2 separate regions of the Homo sapiens genome follow, and region 1 is linked to region 2. Evidence: promoter capture Hi-C in 16 types of primary human blood cells and fetal thymus (Javierre and others, 2016). All regions are on one chromosome and are shown on one strand. Each heading gives the region's core, a stretch centred on a gene start or on the middle of the fragment in contact. The rest is flanking DNA. Distances are from core to core; before and after follow the strand shown. Region 1 overlaps WWP2 (WW domain containing E3 ubiquitin protein ligase 2). Region 2 holds the start of CLEC18A (C-type lectin domain family 18 member A).

The links. Contacts are between HindIII fragments. The CHiCAGO score rates a contact against its expected background, and 5 or more counts as called.
Region 1: a contact is called between a fragment that was not itself captured here and the fragment with the promoter of CLEC18A in region 2, in 4 of 17 cell types (endothelial precursors, M2 macrophages, M0 macrophages and 1 more). The highest score is 7.0, in endothelial precursors.

What each region holds. Positions count from the first base shown.
Region 1 is chr16:69,910,941-69,915,590 of GRCh38, forward strand. The region is part of intron 9 of WWP2 (WW domain containing E3 ubiquitin protein ligase 2); the gene reads left to right. Among named protein-coding and RNA genes, the nearest start is that of MIR140, 20 kb to the right of the region's middle. The HindIII fragment of the contact is 6,162 bases long and covers 98-4,650 here.
Region 2 is chr16:69,948,344-69,952,831 of GRCh38, forward strand. CLEC18A (C-type lectin domain family 18 member A) reads left to right here and starts at 2,991. Exons shown (of 12, transcript NM_001370523.4): 1 at 2,991-3,147; 2 at 3,692-3,783. The coding sequence starts at 3,024. RefSeq lists enhancers at 1,698-2,311, 2,312-2,924, 4,151-4,488. The HindIII fragment of the contact is 42,237 bases long and covers 1-4,488 here.

The DNA.
Region 1 (4,650 bases), core at 1,929-4,428, 37 kb before region 2:
AGTCCTTCCTGAGTTTTAGGTCAAGAACTTTGAGCCTCTAGCTCTCATTTCTGCTCTGTAATCACAGGGGATCCAGAGAGAACAGAATGAATGCTTAAGCTTTCATTTCTCATTAATGGCAGAAGTCCTGCCTCCAGGGAAGTATTAACCATGGTGAAAACAATTTTGAAACTACAGATGGAGCCATGATCTCAACAGACCTAGTCCCTGGGGAGCAAGATTGAACCACCGATTCACTTAATCATGGCCGTCCCTGCATAGGAAACCCACAGGAAACTTGTATGAGAATGGGTCCTTCTATCCGGGAGCAATAAGTATTGGACCTAGTAGCTCAGGGTGAATGCATCCATTTGCTCATCAGTCACTCTTAAGCAGTGTTCAGACCACAGGTAAGCAAAGAGTGATCACTGTGAAACAAGAGGATTGAGGAGGCCTCACAGAGGGAAGTGGCTCCAACTCTTGCAAGAAGATGATCCAGGTTGGGGGGACAGTGGAGGTGGCTGCCTGCATATGGGAAGGGAAAGGATGTGTTTGGGGAAGGATGCATGGGGTGGTTATGCTGGAGTGGAAGGGTTGTATGAAGTAAAGAAGTCCAAGTGTGCCCGGTGGGGCTCTCAGGTTTGGGGGAGATGCCCACCAGAGCCAAAGAGGGTGGAAGGGCTGACTGGGCCTCCAGTCACTGTTCTGTGCAAGATTTCAACTGAAATAAAGAGTGCAATCGTGCTTCTTAGAAGTGGAAATTCACCACAGCAGAGTACTTTTAGTTAAACATGTGGCTTGAACATGTGTTTATTTCTATTCTTCCTGAAAACCCACTAAAATAGTAATAAAAGTATTAAAAAGGCATAAACCTTCAACAATAAAGGGATGGAAGAGGAGAAACAGCATATGGGAGATGTTAATCAAAGTTTAGTTTCTGATAGATAAATGGCAGAGCCGAGAGAATGAAACCCACACCTGCAGGATGAGGAATCCACCAGGAAGCCGGCTGATGTGCACCATGGGGCTCTGGAAAGCCTCAGCGATTAGAGGCACCAAGGATGGGTGTGGAATGAGATTAAAACCTTGGCTGGGCTCGGTTGCTCACGCCTGTAATCCCAGCACTTTGGGAGGCCGAGGCAGGTGGATCATGAAGTCAGGAGATTGAGACCATCCTGGCTAACACGGTGAAACCCCATCTGTACTAAAAATACAAAAAATTAGCCAGGCATGGTGGCACACACCTGTAGTCCCAGCTGCTTGGGAGGCTGAGGCAGGAGAATTGTTTGAACCCCAGCGGCGGAGGTTACAGTGAGCTGAGATTGCACCACTGCACCACTCTAGCCTGGACGACAGAGCGAGACTCCATCTCAAAAAAAAACAAAACAAAACCTCATTGGTTTTAGATCAGTTGGAAGATGAGTTGGAAGTTTGTGCAGGGAGTTAGATTCACACACACACACACACACACACACACACACACACACACACAGCCTCATGACTGCCTCTGACATTGAGAAGCTGCAGAGAGAGTAGGAGGACCAGGTCGGGGGACACAAACTATAGCTGAAGGCCAGGATGAACTCAGAAACAAGAGATTAAATGCGGATGCTATCTCCATTCCCCAGGCTGAAAATTGGAGGGTAGTTTTGTTTGTTTGTTTGTTTGTTTTTGCTGGGGAAAGTGATAGTCTAAGAGAAAGAAACATAGATTGTGATATTTGGGAACCTTCTAGTGAAATAGCTGAGACTCTTCCTGGTCACTCTACAGTCTGCAGCCCTCATCTGAGGATACAGAACTCAGTCAGTGTTTTAGTGGCTCACTGTTAAATGCGAATGAACACAGCTGGGCACGGTGGCTCACACCTGTAATAGTAGAACTTCCAGAGGCCAAGGCAGGAGGATCTGGAAGTAGAACTTCCAGAGGCCAAGGTGGGAGGATCGCTTGAGTCCAGGAGTTCGAGACTAGCCTGGGCAACATATGGAGAACCAGTCTCTACAAAACAAAAAAAAAAAAAAAAAAAAAAAAAAAAAAAAATATATATATATATATATATATATATATATATATATATATTTTTTTTTTTTTTTTTTTTTTTTTTTTTTTTTTTTTTTTTTTTTTGAGACAGAATTTTTGCTCTCGTTGCCCAGGCTGGAGTGCAGTGGCGCAATCTCGGCTCACTGCAACCTCCACCTCCCAGGTTCAAGCGATTCTCCTGCCTCAGCCTCCTAAGTAGTTGGGGTTACAGGCACATGCCACCACGCCCAGCTAATTCTTGTAATTTTTTTTTTAAAGTAGAGATGGGGTTTCACCATGTTGGCCAGGCTGGTCTCGAACTCCTGACATCAGGTGAGCCACCCACCTCGGCCTCCCAAAGTGGTGGGATTACAGGCGTGAGCCACCACGCCCAGCCAAAAAAAAGTTTTTTTTAAATTAGCTGAGTGTGGTGGTGTATGCCTGTGTTCCCAGCTACTTGGGAGGCTGAGGTGGGAGAATCAGTTGGGCCTGGAAGGTTGAGGCTGCAGTGAGCCGTGATTGTGCCACTGCGCTCCAGCCTGGGTGACAGAGCAAGACCCTGTCTCAAAAAATTATAATAATAAATAAAAATAAATGTGAACAAACAGCCAAAGATGAGCAGACAGAAAAAAGAGACTTGGTGAAAACAATATAGGAAGCTGAAAAACAGCTTTGGAAAGGAAAACCAGATTATAATTGATATCCTCAAAGATTTGGGAGAAAATAATGGCATCTGTGCAACAAGAACAGGAGGCCATGAAATGGACCAGGCAGAAAACAGGAGCTTTTAGAAATTAATATATATGACAACAGAAATGAAAAATTCAGTAGAATGGTTGAAAGGTAAATTTGGGCTGAGCATGGTGGCTCACGCATGTAATCCCAGCACTTTGGGAGGGCGAGGCAGGTGGATCACCTGAGATCAGAAGTTCGAGACCAGCCTGGCCAACATGGTGAAACCCCCGTCTCTACTAAAAATATAAAAAATTAGCCAGGCGTGGTGGTGCTTGCCTATAATCCCAGCTACTCGCGAGGCTGAGGAAGGAGAATCGCTTGAACCTGGGAGGCAGAGGTTGCAGTGAACTGAGATCACACCATTGCACTCCAGCCTGGGCGACAGAGCGAGACTCTGTCTCAAAAAAAAAAAAAAAAAAAAAAAAAAAAAGAAAGTGATAAATTTGGAGATAAGAAGATGAGAAGATGTGACCAAGACATTCAATATCTGAAGAATAGTTCTTTAGCAAGAACTTGCGGAATAGCAGGAAAGAACAGAGAAACAGGCAATAGGAAATCATTAGAAAAGAAAATTGCCAGAACTCAAGTATCCAGATTCAAACAGCTCACCACACGCCTAGCCCAGAGGATAAAAAAAGACTCACCCCAAGGCTCATCTGATTGAATTTCTGAGTGCCAAGAGACAGCCTCAGAAACTTCCAGAGGGAAAAAACAGAGTACCTAGAAAGGATCAGGAACCAAGAGTGCCATCCTTCTTCTCAGCTGTAGAGCAGGACCTTCACAATTCCGATGGAAAATGATTTCCTGCCGGGCACAGTGGCTCAAACGTCTAATCCCAGCACTTTGGGGGGCCAAGGCAGGAGGATCGTTTGAGTCCAGGAGTTCAAGACCAGCCTGGGCAACACAGTGAGACACTATCTCTTAGAAAAACAAAAAATTGGCCCCGCATGGTGGTGCGTGCCTGTAGTCCTAGCTACTTGGGAGGCTGAGGTGGGAGGATCACTTGAGCTGGGAGGTCGAGGCTGCAGTGAGCCATGATCATGCCACTGCACTCCAGCCTGGGCAACAGAGCAAGACCCTGTCTCAAAGAAACAAAAAAGAAAATGATTTCCTGTCTAGAAATCAACTTTGAGTTATTTTAACATTTGAATATGAGAGTAGAAGTCAAGGCATCTTCAGACATTCTGGGCTTCAAAAAATTAACCTTGATACATCCTGTCTTGGAAGCTACTCCATGATTTATCGCACCAAATCCCACCAGGAAGCCAAGAAAGAAGAATGAATGGGATGCAAGACACAGGGAACTTAACCCCGAGGCCATGGAATCTCCCAGGAGGAGGAGAAGGGAAGGCAAGTCAGGTCAAGGACACAGAGCGGGTGTGAGATGGACACACAACTGTCCCCGTCAGATGAGGGAGAGATGTGGCCGAGAGAGGAAGGCCACTGCCAGGCCACCTGTCCCGTCTGAGAATCTGGGGATGCATCAGTGATAGGTTCTTGAAAACCACACAGAAGACGACAAGGAAGTTCTCACCTCCAGAAAAAAGAAAAAAGTTGTTACAAGTAAGGAAATGTACTTATAGTATTCTACATTGTCATCCAAACCCTGAATATTGATTTAACGGTGAGTTTCCATATTGAGAGGACGAGGGGAGGAGATAGTTGAGGGATGGAATGCAATACCTATATCCTCATCCCTCATCTTTGGTAGTGGAAAGTCCATAAGCGATAGCAAATATGGCAAAAATCAAGAAATAATGAGCCAGGCTTGGTGGTGCACACCTGAGACTACTCAGCTACTCAGGAGGCTGAGGCTGGAGGATAGTTTGAGCCCAGCAGTTCAAATCCAGTTTGGGCAACATAGTGAGATCCTGTCTCTGTATTAAAGAAAAGACAAAAAGCAATGAAATAGACATGTTA
Region 2 (4,488 bases), core at 1,741-4,240:
AATGTGGCCACAACTCTCCTAGAGTTAAATGTTTTTTTTGTTTGTTTGTTTGTTTGTTTTTTGAGACCATCAACAAGATTTCAAGGCTTTAAAGAAAGGAGCTGCTTCAGGAAGAGATAAAATGACTCGAACGCTATAACCTTCAAATGCAGACTGGGAGAAGAGGTATCAGCTATGCATGAGCTGGAGAGGGGTGGGATAGATAGAGACACAGGTGATAAAGAAAATACAGCAAAATGTGAACCCTACAATCTGGGTGGTGGATGTAAACCCTGTAGTAGCCTCACCTGGGGAAAGCTGCCTTGCAACAATGAGGCTGCCCATTCTCCAAACCCACCCCAGCCACCGAGCAGGCTCCACTAAAAAGTCTGAACCCAGGAGGGAGTACCATGGAAACCAAGTTGCAATGCCCTGGTTAGGGGCCCAGCAGAGGGGTCATCCCAGCTCTACGCCATTGGATACTGAGTTTCAGGAGTGGGAGTGCCATCCTCAGGGTCACACAGCGTGTCGGTTCCAGCCTAGGTCTTCCAGTGTCTCATTAATCTTTTATCCACTCAGCTTCTCTTCTGGCCCATGAACCTTGCTCTCCTGGGACTCTTTTTTTTTTTTTTTGAGGGGTCGGGGGTGGGACAGAGTCTTGCTCTGTTGCCCAGGATGGAGTGCAGTGGTGCCATCTTGCTTCACTGCAACCTCCGCCTCCCAGATTCAAGCAATTCTCCTGCCTCAGCCTACCGAGTAGCTGGGACTACAGGCACCCACCACCCTGCCCAGCTAATTTTTGTATTTTTAGTAGAGACAGGATTTCACCATGTTGGCCAGGCTGGTCTCGAGCTCCTGACCTCAAGTGATCCGCCTGCCTTGGCCTCCCAAAGTTCTGGGATTACAGGCATGAGCCATCACACCCGGCCTGGGACTCTTCTTGCAGTGAGCCAGGGCCATGGGACCCTTCAAAAGTTGCTCCACCCTAATCCCCAAAATATCTTTTTCTCCCGCCTGTCCCAAGTGCCTGGCATCATACTATATGGGTCAACTGGCCGTGTTTGCCATGGAAGCCCAATTGTAGGAAGTGGGTCTTTTATCACCCGGCATAGCAGAGCTGTGGAAACTGCACTGGGAAAGATCAGGATGTGAATTAAAGCGTTGGGAATGGGAAGGCAGAGACCTTGGATTAGCTGGGATGCTCCATGCACTCGCTGAGTGACCTTGGACAAGCCCCTTAGACACACTAAGCCCGTTTCCTCATCTACACGACGGGCATCCCATCTGCTACTGCACCAGGTTCTTGTGGCAATAACTTGAACTCACACATGCAAACAGGCTTTGTGAGCTCCATAAACACAGGTGGCTTGGCCAGGTGTGGTGGCTCATGCCTGCAACCCCAGCACTTTGGGAGGCCAAGGTGGGAAGATCCCTTGAGCCCAGGAGTTGGAGACCAGCCTGGGCAAGACGATGAAATCCTGTCTCTACCAAAAAAAATGATAATAATTAGCCAGGCATGGTGGCACACACCTGGTCCCAGCTCCTTGGGAGGCTGAGGTGGGAGGATCACTTGGGCCCAAGAGGTCAAGGCTGCAGTGAGCTGAGATTATAACACTCCAACCTGAGTGGCAGAGTGAAACTGTCTAAAAAATAAAAATAAAAATACATCAAAAAACAGGTAGCTATTAAGCATTGCTAGGACCCACACGCAGTGACCCTGAGGGTGCTGGGTTTCTGTTTGAGGGAGAAGAAACTCCTGAGCCCCTAGGTATTGTGGGGGACATGCAGTTCCAGACCGCCTTCATGGCCTGTATGCCTGGCCTCATCCCCATCCCTGGCATCCATGACGATAGCCACATTCCACTGGTGTTTCCCCAGGAAAGCCAACCCTACCTGCATCTCAGCAGAGCTTCCACAGAGTTGGAACCCCGCTCCGAGAGGGTGTGGGCTCAGGGGCCAGGGGTCACACAAACTCCAGAAGGAGGACGTAGTTGGTTTGCAAGGCTGTCCTTTGCCCTGGTTGAATAACCTTTGGTCTTCCCCGAGAGGAACGTGGGCATTAGGTTGCAGCCCGCAGGAAGCCATGTATTTTCTGAGAAACTTGGCCCATGGTGCAGATCTGCTCCAGCTCACTCTGGTGGGATCACGCCAGCCACGGCCGGGCCACGGCACATCATGGCAACGTGCTGCCCACCTGCTACGCCGCCTGTTTTTCTAGAGGCGGACGTGATCCCAGCAGGACTGGAGTCAGCCCAGGGCATCACGTGCTCTGGTCCCCGCCTGCTTTGACTCCTCCTGCCTCACTCCCCCCCTGGCCTGTAGTCACGTGGGTGAGGGTGGTGGGCACCGGGGCTGGGCCCAGCCCCCGACCCTGCCCAGACAGACTTTCCTAAGGCACCCTTTTCCTCGTGCAGGTGCGGCCTCAGCCCACCCCCCTTTGAGCCCACAGATTGCACCCCTCTGGTGTGCGGTTACCTCTTGCCTATGTTTAATTCATGGCTGGGGGGTTGGGACGAGCTTCCCAAGAAAGGAAAGAACTCCCCTGGGGTCTTGCCCAGTTCCTGCTCACCAGAAGGACCATAGCCGAGGTCCTCCTCCCAGGGCCCGGGGCTGGGGAGCGGAAGCCATCAGTGGGCTCGGAGGACACTGTCCCAGCCAGGACACGGCCATCGGTCACTAATCTGCAGCACTGGAATGTCCGCGGGCCAATCAGCGGGGTCTCTGGGGGCTCCCCAAGGGTGCTAATAATCCCACAATGATTAGCAGGGGCCGCGGGTCAGTGCACGCCACTCTGCCTGCTGTCGGGGGCGGGCTGGCCAGGCCGAGGCCGGAGCAGGCAGGCATCCCCCGGAGTTGTCTCTTTTCATGCCAGCGCCAACAGGAGGCTGTCTGGACACACTGATTACTCACTCACCAGCCTCCCTCTTTTGTCCACCAGCCCAGCCTGACTCCTGGAGATTGTGAATAGCTCCATCCAGCCTGAGAAACAAGCCGGGTGGCTGAGCCAGGCTGTGCACGGAGCGCCTGACGGGCCCAACAGACCCATGCTGCATCCAGAGACCTCCCCTGGCCGGGGGCATCTCCTGGCTGTGCTCCTGGCCCTCCTTGGCACCGCCTGGGCAGAGGTGTGGCCACCCCAGCTGCAGGAGCAGGCTCCGATGGCCGGAGGTAAGGGACACCTGGTGAGGAGGTAGGTGGAGGCACCATTACGAGCTCTGAGGAGTGGGTGCTAGGAGACTTCTGGAAGCCCGGTCCCAGGCCTGAGCCCCAGGCCGTGCGGGTGGTTTAATGAGGAAGCCCTGGGACAGCCCGGGGGCGGTGAGGGGTGGATGCTGGACTGGGGAGGAAGGAGGAGGAAGGAGGACCAGGGCTGGGGTCAAGGAGGAACGCCGAGGGGCGCTGTGGCTGGGGCCTGGAGAAATCCGTGGCCCGGAGGAGCCCCAGACAGGGGCCTGCGGGAGCCAGGGCTGGCCCCTACACCCAGCCCGCACCGCTGTTCCCTCCCGCCACCCCAACCCCAGCACTCAGCCCACGCCTGCTGTACCTGGTCTCTCTCTCAGCCTCGCTCCATTGCTATGCCCCACGTCCCCTGCACCCACCACACTCCTCTCCCATCTTGTTTTCCAAGGGCAGGGACACATGCTTATTCTGCCGTGTGTTGGGTTCAGGTCCCCCCATCCTCGGGCTGCCTGACCTTCTCTCCCCACCCCAGCCCTGAACAGGAAGGAGAGTTTCTTGCTCCTCTCCCTGCACAACCGCCTGCGCAGCTGGGTCCAGCCCCCTGCGGCTGACATGCGGAGGCTGGTGAGTACCCGACCCAGCTGGGCTCTGCCAGGGGGGTGGCCGGAGGCGCGGACCCCAGAGGGCGGCTCAGGAGGCCACGCCTGTCCAGGTGCCCTTCCACTTGACCAGGGTGGGCAGGCACAGCCAGCCACCTTGTCCCTGAGGGACGGAGGCCCTGGTTGCTGGGGGTCTCTGCAATTTCTTAACCCCCCACCCTCAGTTCAGGAGGTCGGGCCCCTTGGCTCCCACTCGCCTGAAGGGCAGGACCTTGGGCCTTCCCTGGCATCTTGTTGTCACAGAGACCAGGAGCCACAGGAGGAGCCGGATCCCCTCCTCCAGGGAAGGGGAGCTTCACGAGGAGCCCTGCAGGATGGGCGGCCGGGCCAGGGAGGGAGAAGGTCGTGCTGGGCTGGGGAGGGGCTTCTGTGCGGCAAGGACCCAGCGCCTCCTCCTGAGCTTATCTGAGCCACGAGGACGGGCCTTGCCCATGTTCTCTGCTCACTCACTCGTCCACATTTTCCACATTTTCAGCAGGGGCCGGGGGTCGGGGGTATAGAATTCCCCACCAGCCCGGCTGGGGCTGCGGGGTTGGGACTGTCATCTGGAGGCTCAGAAACGCTGCCCCCCCTTGTCTGGGACCCCAGCAGCCCCAGCCCATGTTAGCAGGCCAGGGAGCCAGGGCAGGGTGGTGGGGGCGGGAGGGTTCCCCATGGCTGCTTCCCATGA